Linked DNA regions of Homo sapiens: region 2 is linked to region 1. Evidence: promoter capture Hi-C in 16 types of primary human blood cells and fetal thymus (Javierre and others, 2016). All regions are on one chromosome and are shown on one strand. Each heading gives the region's core, a stretch centred on a gene start or on the middle of the fragment in contact. The rest is flanking DNA. Distances are from core to core; before and after follow the strand shown. Region 1 overlaps ADSL (adenylosuccinate lyase). Region 2 holds the start of CACNA1I (calcium voltage-gated channel subunit alpha1 I).

Region 1 (5,580 bases), core at 464-2,963:
CCAAGATACCGCTGTTTTGAGCTGCCTTTATTTCTTTGTGTAGATTTTTTGGAATTATCTTTTGGTCTTGAGAATGTGGTATAATGGACAAAGAATTAGGTTTTATTGTCAGGTGGATCTGGGTTAAATCGTAACCTCTGGCATTTACTGGCTGAGAAGGTAAAAGTAAATATCTCAGTGTTGTAATGATTGAAATGCCTGAGTATATACTAGGTGCTCAGTATGTGTTCAGGTACTGTATTTAATTCTGGGGATTTTAAAATGAATAGATAGGCTGGGCGCAGTGGCTCACACCAGTAATCCTAGCATTTTGGGAGGCCGAGGCAGGAGGATTGCTTGAGCTCAGGAGTTCAAGAACATCCTGGGCAACATGGTGAAACCTTGTCTCTACAAAAAAATACAAAAATTAGCCAGGTGTGGTGGTGTGCGCCTGTAGTCTCTGCTACTCAGGGCTGAGGCGGGAGGATAGCTTGAGCCTAGGAGGTCAAGGCTGCAGTGAGCCATATTCATTCCCTTGCCCTCTGGCTTGGGTGACAAAATGAGATCCTGTCTTAAAAAAAATACAAAGATGAATAGATAATCCTCATCTTCAGAGAGCTCAAAACTTAGTGGTGAATACTTGTAAATAGGTCATTATGATACCAAGCAGTACGTGCAAGGACTGAGGGCTAAAAGACTAAAACTGGAGGTAGGAGACCAATAAGGAGGCTACTGCAACGGGCCAAGCAGTAGATGATGAGAGCTTGAGTGAAGGCAGTGGTGAGAGACACAGACCGGGGAGGGAGAGGAGGTTAAGCTCTTGGTGGCTACTTGAAGAGGGCTGGGAAGCAGGAGGAAAGAAGCTGTGGTGATTTTTAGGTTGGATGGAAATGGTGAAACCACCTGAGAGAACACAGGCTGGGCCAGTTTGCGGGAAAGGTTGGTGAGCATGTGGGCATGGTGGTTGAATCATCTGTGTCTAGGCAGAAATTCCTGATAGGCAGTTGAGGAAAACAAGCTCAGTGTTGGAGTAAAAGCTTCATCAAATTAGGTTTCAGTGGTATCCCCTGACATTGGAAAAGGTATTATCTGCTAATATCTTAACATTTTCTTTTGTCTTGTATTTGCTTTCCTCTGGCAGGTGCAGAGATTCTTAGAAGAGGAGGTGTATCCCCTGTTAAAACCATATGAAAGCGTGATGAAGGTGAAAGCAGAATTATGTCTGTAGAGTTGGAAGAGAATTAAACGAAAATCATTGTTAATTGCTGAGGCATGAAAATTGTGTTACTATAATGCCTTATTTTACCTCGAGAATTGTTACCTTAAATTAGTACAGCACTTTCTTCTTCCCATGGTGCTTTCCTGTTTCTCAGTCTCACATTTCTCAACAAGGCAAAAACAAAGAGCGTTGAAGTTGACTCTGCTCTTGCATAGTAAATGTAGTTCATACTTGATCTCTGTTCTTTCAAGGCATATTTTCCAGCTGCCTCAAGTTTAGTCCTTTTCACGTGTTCATTTGCTTGTAAAGTAGCAAGAAATTTCTGGTCCTGTCTTCTAAAAGTGAATTTGATCTAGGTCTAGCAAAATAACCTGGACTCAGTGATTGAGTCAATGGTCAGATACCTTTTATTTCGGTTATTTTTGGCTAGTATAAGTGATGAAGTTTGGAACTACAGTAAATACTTAAAAAAAAAAAAAAAAAGAACCAAACCCTGATGTGACCATCAGGCTGATTGAGCTGAAGTTGTGCCCAAGCTCATTTCATCTTTTGATAAGGCTTATACAGCAGGGAAATGCTAATTGAGTATATTGATTTCATCAGGGCCGCTGACAGTCTTTATTCCTTGTTGCATGGATTTTGTTGTTGAGGCTTGCTCTGTCACCCAGACTAGAGTGCAGTAGCACAATCTTGGCTCACTGCAACCTCCGCCTCTCAGGTTCAAGCGATTCTCCAGCCTCAGCCTCCCAAGTAGCTGGGATTACAGGCGCCTGCCGCCATGCCTGGCTAATTTTTGTATTTTTAGACGGGATGGAGTTTTGCCATGTTGGGCGGGCTGGTCTTGAACTCCTGACCTCAAGTGATCCGCCCATCTCAGCCTCCCAAAGTTCTGGGATTATAGACATGAGCCACCACACCCAGCCTAATCTTGTTTTCTTTTTTTACTTGTTTACAGTGTAAGCAAGTGCCATTGGACAAGAACGTTGTCTGTGTCATTCCTTGTTGTATTTCCAATAGCAAGAGCACATCAGATACTTGGCAACTAGGCAGTCTTCCAGCTTCTGCCACTGCGCCCGACTTCCTTGTTGCATGGATTTATAGCTGATTGAAGCAACTGTAGCCAAAGATTGAGTTAATTACCTACCTGCCAGGAGAGCACTAGTGTTATTTAGCCCATTCTCATCCTACATATTTTTCGGCATAGATGAAAATGAAAGCTTTTGTTTATCAGATTTGCAGATGACACAAAACTGGGAGAATTAACAAGTATGTTTATTTGGTAAAATAAGTTTTCATCTCTAACCTAAATCGGCTGAAATGATGTGTCCTAAACTAGAGGAAAAAGTTAATAAAGATCAATGTAAATAAGTTAATCTTAAACTCAGTATGCACCAGAACTGAGAGAAGACTGTTTTAGGAGGTGTTAATGGTTGTCCAGTGCCCAAAAAGCCACCAGAGGCTTACTGCTCCGCACTCTTGGCATTACATTCAATTTTGGATACCCAGTCTGAGGAATAGAGATGAACTGGAGAGCCAACCTCCAAAAAGATCTTGTGGTGGAGGAATGTTAGGGCTCTTTATCCTATACAGAAGAAAACTCCTCGGCACTTCAAATATTGCCAGGTGCAGGAAGAGTGACTTGATTGTGTGTTGCCCCAAGAGACACACTGAGCTCAATACCCATTACTGAGACTGGCTTGGGGCCAGACATTGGAACCACTGAGATTAGCAACCTACACTCAATCCCCCAGGTCAGGCAGAAGCTGGAAGACTGCCTCGTTAGGAATGTTGTGAGGGAGAGGAGGCTGAATCGGTTCCAGTTTTATTTAAAAGTAGCCAGGAAATCAGGTTGCGATGATGCGCATTTACAGTCCCAGCTACTTGGGAAGCTGAGGCGATAGGGTCACTTGAGCCCAAGAGTTTAGTCCAGGCTGGGTGACAGCGAGCCCTTGTCACTTAAAGCCAACCTAAGAGAAGAGCTTATCCTTTTGGAAAAACAATAGAAGACAATTCTGAAAACCAAATTCTGAACATAGGCTAGTATAGCAAGCAAGCAGGGATAGCATAGAGCCATTTGCTCAACTTCCAGAAAGAGTTACTCTGTTCATCTCTAAAAAATCTTGAAAAGGGCCGGGTGCGGTGGTGGCTCACGCCTGTAATCCCAACACTTTGGGAGGCCGAGGCAGGTGGATCACCTGAGGTCAGGAGTTCGAGACCAGCTTGACCGACAAGGTGAAACTCCGTCTCTACTAAAAATACAATCAACCGGGCGTGGTGGCAGGCGCCTATAGTCCCAGCTACTTGGGAGGCTGAGACAGGAGAATTGCTTGAACCTGGGAGGCAGAAGTTGCAGTGAGCCAAGATCATGCCACTGTACTCCAGCCTGGGCAACGGAGCGAGACTCCATCTGAAAAAACAAAACAGAAAAAATCTTGAAAGGATACTAAGTCTGACACAAGGAAATTAAGTCATGGGACTCTGACCAGATATTCTGTCTACTTCCTTCTCTGCTATGGGCAACTTGGAGGCAGCAACTACTATCAGTTTATCTGTAATGTGAGAATTTATATTACATAACAGATACTGGGGATATAGGATACCATGGATTTTAGTTAATACATTTCCTCATAGAAAATAAGGAAATAACAGTCTTGTTCCTGTCCTAACAATTCTGTTAGACTAATGATCTCCAGTGATTGGCGATTTGACCTGGTTTCTTCCTGGACTATTTGAATGGGTGGATTTGTTGGTGCATCTCTTGTCTTCTTTCCTTTTCCATTCTCCTTTATTTTTGTATTTACATACTTGTATGCAACTTTGTAATCTGATTTTCCCATGTAACATTTTAATTTGATGGGTGGTCTGCGTGTTCACTGGAAAACATATATATATTAAATGTACATTTATGTATATATATAAAATATACATTCATATATATTATATATAATATACATTCATATATATTATATATAATATACATTCATATATCTATCTTTTATATATATATATAGACAAGATCTTGCTCTGTCGCCCAAGCTGGAGTGCAGTGGCATGACCACAGTTCACTGCAGCCTTGATTTCCTGGGCTCAAGCGATCCTCTCACCTCAGCCTCTTGAGTAGCTGGGACTATGGCACACACAACCACACGTGGTTCATTTTTTGTTGTTTTTTGTAGAGACAGGGTCTCACTCTGTTAACCCAGGCTGTTGTATTTTCTTTAAGATTGGTTTAAATTCACACGGACTCCAGCATCAGAACTACCCAGATGTCAGGTTCTGGGCAGAACTTGGGGCAACTGATGAAATGTCTGCTCAGCTGAAGTCAGACACCTGGACACTTAATGCCCTCTTTCCCTGGCTGATGCTCAGTTTCATTTAAGAACCAGGAGAGCCTGATGTTTGTAAACACAGCTTTAGTGGAAGCACGAGGGTTAGGAGTCCCTAGAAAGGTGATATGAAGCCTAGGTGGATGTGAGGGTTGGTGAGATGGGAATTGCACAGCATAGAATCTGACACAGAAGGTACTCAGAAAATTTCGTTTTCCGGCCTGGCGCGGTGGCTCACGCCTGTAATCCCAGCACTTTGGGAGGCTGAAGCGGGCAGATCATCTGAGGTCAGGAGTTCGAGACCAGCCTGGCCAACATGGTGAAACCCCGTCTCTACTAAAAATACTGTACTAAAAATACAAAAAAATTAGCTGGGCGTGGTGGCGGGCGCCTGTAATCCCAGCTACTCGGGAGGCTGAGGCAGAGAACTGATTGAACCTGGGAGGTGGAGGTTGCAGTGAGCCGAGATCACGCCACTGCACTTCAGCCTGGGTGACAGAGCGAGACTCCATCTCAAAAAAAAAAAAAAAAAAAAATTAGCAAGTTATTTGCAGCGTCTATCTCCCACCACCCTGACTGCTGGTCCACACCATACTGTCCCAAGCTTCTCAGGCTGCGGTGCAGACGAAGAAATCATCGCTATGCATGCTGGCCTTGGGATGGGGGCGCAAAGCCCCTGGACGCGCCCCGCCTAGTGGGCGGGAACGACTACAGCCCCCAGCATGACCCGCGGCCGCCCATGCCACGCCCCGCCACGCGTGCGCTTAGGCGCCGCTGAGCGCTGACTGGGTGCGAGTGGGGAAGCTGCTAACCCGACCCGGATTGGCGCTGAGGTGGCCCGTGGGGCAGGTGAGTGCGGGGCGGGAGTCAGCGGAGACCCACCGGCGCCTACAAGTTCCCCTCAGGCGGGGGCTGCGGGGCGGCTGTGGTCGGACTGTCCGACCGAGGGTCGTATGGGCCGAAGGCGCCCACGAGAGAAGCACCGCCTCGGGCCGGAGAGCCGCCGGGCCGACCTTGCTCGCGTCGCCGTTGGAATGGGGGCCGGGGACGCGGCGG
Region 2 (5,239 bases), core at 341-2,840, 800 kb before region 1:
AAGCCCGCCTGGGGGTCTGGTGCTGGGATTCTGGCCTCTCAACACCACCTAGTGCTTCACTTGGCTGGGTGCATAGCCTTGACAACCCGCTTTGTTCTCTTGGCCTCAGTTTCTTCACCTGCCAAATGGGCATAATAGTCCTCCTGAGGTTGTTGTGAGCATCAGACAAGGCCAGGGAGTAGAAGTGCTTTGAGTTGGAGTCGGAGCCAGCAAGATGATTTGCATCACCTAGAACAAAATGAAAATGTGGGACCTCTTGATAAGCAATTAAGAATTTCATGTTGGTGACAGAAGAATTCTAAAGCAAGTTCAGGGCCCTTCTGAGCACGGGGCCCTGTGCAGCTGCCTGAGCCACAGACCCAGGAAGCGGGCTCTGACCGGAATTCTTTTTTTTTTTTTTTTTTGGTGACAGAGTCTTGCTCTGTTGCCCAGGCTGGAATGCAGTGGTGTGATCTTGGCTCACTGCAACCTCCACCTCCCGGGTTCAAGTGATTCTCATGCCTCAGCTTCCCGAGTAGCTGAGATTACAGCGTGTGCCACCACACCCAGCTAATTTTTGTATTTTTAGTACAGATGAGGTCTCACTATGTTGGCCAGGTTGGCCTCAAACTCCTGACCTCAGGTGATCCACCCACCTTGGCCTCCCAAAGTGCTGGGATTACAGGTGTGAGTCACGTGCCTGGCCTTTGACTGGAATTCTATTTCTGCTGTTACTCTGCTACATGTCTGTCCTGTCCCTTCTCTGGGCCTCGGTTTCTTCATCTGTAAGGCAAGGAGGTTAGACTCTAAGATTCCTGGGTTCTCAGCCTTGTAAGGCAGTGGCTGGGAGGTCCCTGGGTCAAGGGCTCAGCTGTAGGTCTCAGCTCAGGGGTTACTTCCTCAGGGAAGCCAACTGTGATTCCCTCCTGGCTTGCCAGCGTTCCCCCAGTCTCTGATTCTGCAGCACCCCAACATTGCCTTTGTAACCTGCATTGTCCTGGCAATAATGTCTGTCTTTACAATCACCTCTTTTTTCTTGCAAGTTTTCTTTACCTTTGATGGTGCAATAAATACATAGCTCTAGTCTTGTAAAAAAGTTAAGATCCCTTCCTTCCTTCCTTCCTTCCTTCCTTCCTTCCTTCCTTTCTTCCCTCCCTCCCTCCCTCTCTCCCTCTCTCCCTCCCTTCCGTCTTTCTTTTCTGTCTATAATTACTTAAACATTTTTTCTCTTAAATAATGAAAGATTTCAAATACAGAAAATTGCCAATAGACAAAAAAAAAAGAGTTAATATCACAATTATATTCTAAGAAGGCTTTATTCTCCCCACTATCTTCGTTTGCCAAAACTGAGGCTCAGCCAGGGTGAGCAGACTTGCCCCATGATCACCCAGCTTGGAAGCAGATTCCAAGTTGGGTGCAGCTGGGCCCTCAGCTGTTTCGTAATCCTCATGCAAGAGTGAGGGTGAGGGGCCTGTGGGGCTCAGGTGGGGCTGTCAGAGCTGCATCCGTCCACTTATTGGTGGAGAGGCAGGTTGGGGAGCATGTACCAGGCCTGTCCCCACCACGTGCCACCCTCTCTGTCTTCCCCAGGGCTCCCAGCTCAGTGTGGACATGGCTGAGAGCGCCTCCCCGCCCTCCTCATCTGCAGCAGCCCCAGCCGCTGAGCCAGGAGTCACCACGGAGCAGCCCGGACCCCGGAGCCCCCCATCCTCCCCGCCAGGCCTGGAGGAGCCTCTGGATGGAGCTGATCCTCATGTCCCACACCCAGACCTGGCGCCTATTGCCTTCTTCTGCCTGCGACAGACCACCAGCCCCCGGAACTGGTGCATCAAGATGGTGTGCAACCCATATCCTCCGCAGCCTCGGCTGATCGGGGCCCTGCAGGGGCTGAAGGGTGGGGGGCTGGATTGAGTCCTGCTGCTCACACCTTGCTCCGGCTGGGAGACCTGAGGTCTGCGGTGAGGCCACTGGGCCTTGGTGGTGGTGAGCGAGCTCAGAGGGTGGGTCTGGGGAGACCTCAAATGGATGAGGACCTGGTGTTCTGCTGATGTGAAGGTTCTGGAAGTTGCTGGTGGCTGTGGGGTCAGTCCAGTGGCTGGCTGGCTCAGAAAGTCCTTGAGTGTGGGCCCCAGACCTGTGCTGGGCTGGGAATGCAGATCAGTCAGACTCTGGAGCCACCTGATGGGCCGTGACCATACAGAGGATGGGAGCCGTGATCAGGAACTGTGGGCGTGGGCAGCGGGGCAGCCGATCCCAACACACAGGGCAGGACTCATTCTCCTTACTGTGCCTCCGAGCAGCCTCTTCCCAGGCCTCCTGCCTCCACTTGCTGCCTCCAGTGGGCTCATGTTCCCCCTGCTTAAGACTGTCATGATTTGCTATGGTCCTGGAGGTGCAGAGCAAAGTCCTAATCCAACCCATCAGGGCCTGTGTGTTCCACCCAGCCTCACTTCCCACCACTTGGCTTCCCCCCTGTGCTCTTCTGAGCCTCAGGGTCCTCTCACTGGCTCTTCCCCCTGTCTGAAAAGCTTTTCCCTTCCCCCTGGACCTGGCCAAATCCTTTGCTACATCCTTAAAATCCCAGCTTAAGCATCACCTCCTCAGGGAAGCCCTCTGGGATTCCTCCTCTGCTTCATATCTAACTGTCACATCTAACTGTGGAATTCTGAATCTAACATTTGCCTCCCCTGGGGTACTGTCAGATGACTGGGATGGGGACCCTAGCACCTGGCACAGTGCTTGGCACATCGTGGGTGCTCTGGCAGTGTTTGCTGGGTGTACATGGGCAATGCCAGAGCTGACTCCTCAATAAGGAAGAGCGTTGGTTGGGTAGAGAGGGTAGTGGGAGGCAGGAGGAGGGCATGGCAGGAGCGAAGCCTGGAGAAGGGAGGAGTTGCAGGCAGTGTTGGAGCCCTGAGGGGCAGAGAGGAGTGAGGTGAGGCTGCAGGTGTGGCGGGAGCCCTGCAGGGCCTTGGAGGCTGCATGAGGGATGGGACTGTGCTCCAAGGGCAGGATTTGAAGCAGGGTCTGGAGAGATCTGTGCTCTGGAAGGACTGTGTGGCACTGGCTTGCAGGGTGAAGTGGGGGCTGGGGACCACTGAGGAGGAGGCTTGGGGACCCAAGCCATGGTGGCCTTGTGGTTTGAGGGTCCCACCAAAAAATGCCCATATGTGGCTCGAGGTTCTGGTGCTTGTGGCCACACAGGGCAGGGTGCGGGGAGCTGGTGGGTCAGGTGCAGGCCTGAGTCCTGCCCTGGAATCCAGGGATGCCAGATGCAGGCTGGGATGTTGAGACTGGCTGCAGGACTGCCAGGCTTCCCTTCTGTAGGGGGCTGAGGTGATCGTGGGCCCTGGATCCCCCTAACTTTTGGAAACCAGCGGGTCTCTGCTGGAGTGGGATGCAGAACTGGGTGTTCCTTGCTGGGTGGGGGCTAAGAGCCTCCCTGCTCCTTCTGGGGGACGGCTCACAGCGTCTCAGGCTTGGTGAGAGGGTCTGCTCGGTAATTAGTTCACCCAGCACTCACTGACATCTGCCCTGGGACACTGAGGACAAAGAGGCAGAGCTGGTGTCTGTCCCAGGGAGTGCCCGGGGAAGAGGGAAGCAGGGACCACCCATTTGGCTAGTTTTTTTTTTTAGATGGAGTCTCGCTCTGTCACCCAGGCTGGAGTGCAGTGGCGCGATCTCGGCTCACTGCAACCTCCGCCTCCCAGGTTCAAGCAATTCTCCTGCCTCAGCCTCCCGAGTAGCTGGGACTACAGGCACCCACCGCCATGCCCTACTAATTTTTGTATTTTTAGTAGAGATGGGGTTTCACCATGTTGGTCAGGCTGGTCTCGAACTCCTGACTCGTGAACCGCCTGCCTCGGCCTCCCAAAGTGCTGGGATTACAGGTGTGAGCCACTGTGCCCAGCCTACGTGGCTAGTTTTAATACAAAGCACTGGGGAAACCTCAGGGGCTTGTGGCATGTGAACAGAGGAGTGCCAGGCCTGAGAAGGGGGCGGCCGCAGGAATTTTGGGCCTTTAGGAAGAGAAAGGCTGGTAGGAGGACCAGGGGGACAATTTCACAATGTCTCAGGGGCCTTTCCTGGGTGAGATGACAAGAGTTGATTCTGGCTCTGTCACTTGGGTGCTGTGTGACCATGAGTAAGTCACTTTGCTTCTTTGAACCTTAGGGGGTCTGGATGGGCAATACTGCTCTGGGCTGGAGGCAGGGGCATGGCTCAGAGGACTTGGCCTGGGAGTCTGACCCAGCTGCGTCTCTGATGGGCTCTGGCTGGGCTGGCTGGGGTGCTGCCCACGTGTCACGGAGAGGCCCCTAGATGGGGGTGGTCAAGTCCTGTCTGCCATGTGTGTGACCCTGGGCAGTCTCCTCTCTCTGAGCCTCAGCACCTCCACCTAAAAAGGAGACGGCAGACGAATCACCCCTTCCAGCCCTGGGAGCCCAGGGTGTTAGCCACACACGCCATGGGGGCTGCCTTGATCTCAGGCACCCTGACGCCTGACCACTGAGTGAGCCAGCCCCTGGGAACCCACCCAGTTTTCCATATTTCTGGCCTGTTGGGCAAACAGAGTCCTTGGGGCCACTGTCTCCTTGGTTTTCACCACCCCTCTCACCTCCATCCTCAGGTCATGTGGGTTGTGGCCTGGGGTTGGAGACAACAGTGGGGCTGGCCCAGGAGGGAGAGGAGTACTGGTTTCGGGAGGAGCTGGGCCTGCCTCTTGTCTGTCTTGGAGAGAGCCCTGGGTCCAAGGGGTGGGGCAGAAAGCAGCCCCCCTCCATCAGGAGGGACTTTTCAGTCCCGGGAGCTGCGCAGAGCGAGGGTTCCCCCGGCATCCCCATGGCCAGGGCTGCTGAGGCTGGACTGGGATAGAGGTGGTTCAGGTCTCGGCCTTAACTGGTGGGATACGGACTCTCTTCAGGCCAGAGATGTGGCGACTCAAAAGCACAGCAACTTTAAAGGTGTCAGCTCTGGGACACTCAGACTGAAAACTTCTGCGACAGTCTAAGGGTTCAAAGTTAAGATTTAAGGCTCAGCGACACTGAAATTCTAAGCTTCTGTCATTCAAAGGCTGCAAAATTCTGTGTTTCAAAGAGTGTGTGAGCCTAAGACTTGGTGGCTGTGATGCTGTGTGCCTACGAGTTGGAGGATTCTGGACCCGGTGGCTGCAGCCGCTGCTGGCCTGAGAGTTCATAGCTGAATTGGGTCAGGTGGGAGAGGGGCCAAGGAGGGTTCCACAAACAGAGACCCAGGAGACGTG

Evidence for each region. The method cuts DNA at HindIII sites, captures the fragments that hold promoters and counts their contacts. A CHiCAGO score of 5 or more calls a contact.
Region 2: the fragment with the promoter of CACNA1I here is called in contact with a fragment that was not itself captured in region 1 in 1 of 17 cell types (erythroblasts); the score reaches 6.2 in erythroblasts.

The regions. Positions count from the first base shown.
Region 1 is chr22:40,365,316-40,370,895 of GRCh38, forward strand. It overlaps ADSL (adenylosuccinate lyase), which reads left to right. Exons shown (of 13, transcript NM_000026.4): 13 at 1,121-4,052. The coding sequence ends at 1,207. It overlaps SGSM3 (small G protein signaling modulator 3), which reads left to right and starts at 5,279. Exons shown (of 22, transcript NM_015705.6): 1 at 5,279-5,373. RefSeq lists an enhancer at 4,965-5,174 and silencers at 5,325-5,434, 5,495-5,580. The HindIII fragment of the contact is 1,399 bases long and covers 1,015-2,413 here.
Region 2 is chr22:39,569,163-39,574,401 of GRCh38, forward strand. It overlaps CACNA1I (calcium voltage-gated channel subunit alpha1 I), which reads left to right and starts at 1,591. Exons shown (of 37, transcript NM_021096.4): 1 at 1,591-1,826. The coding sequence starts at 1,591. The HindIII fragment of the contact is 9,228 bases long and covers 1-2,505 here.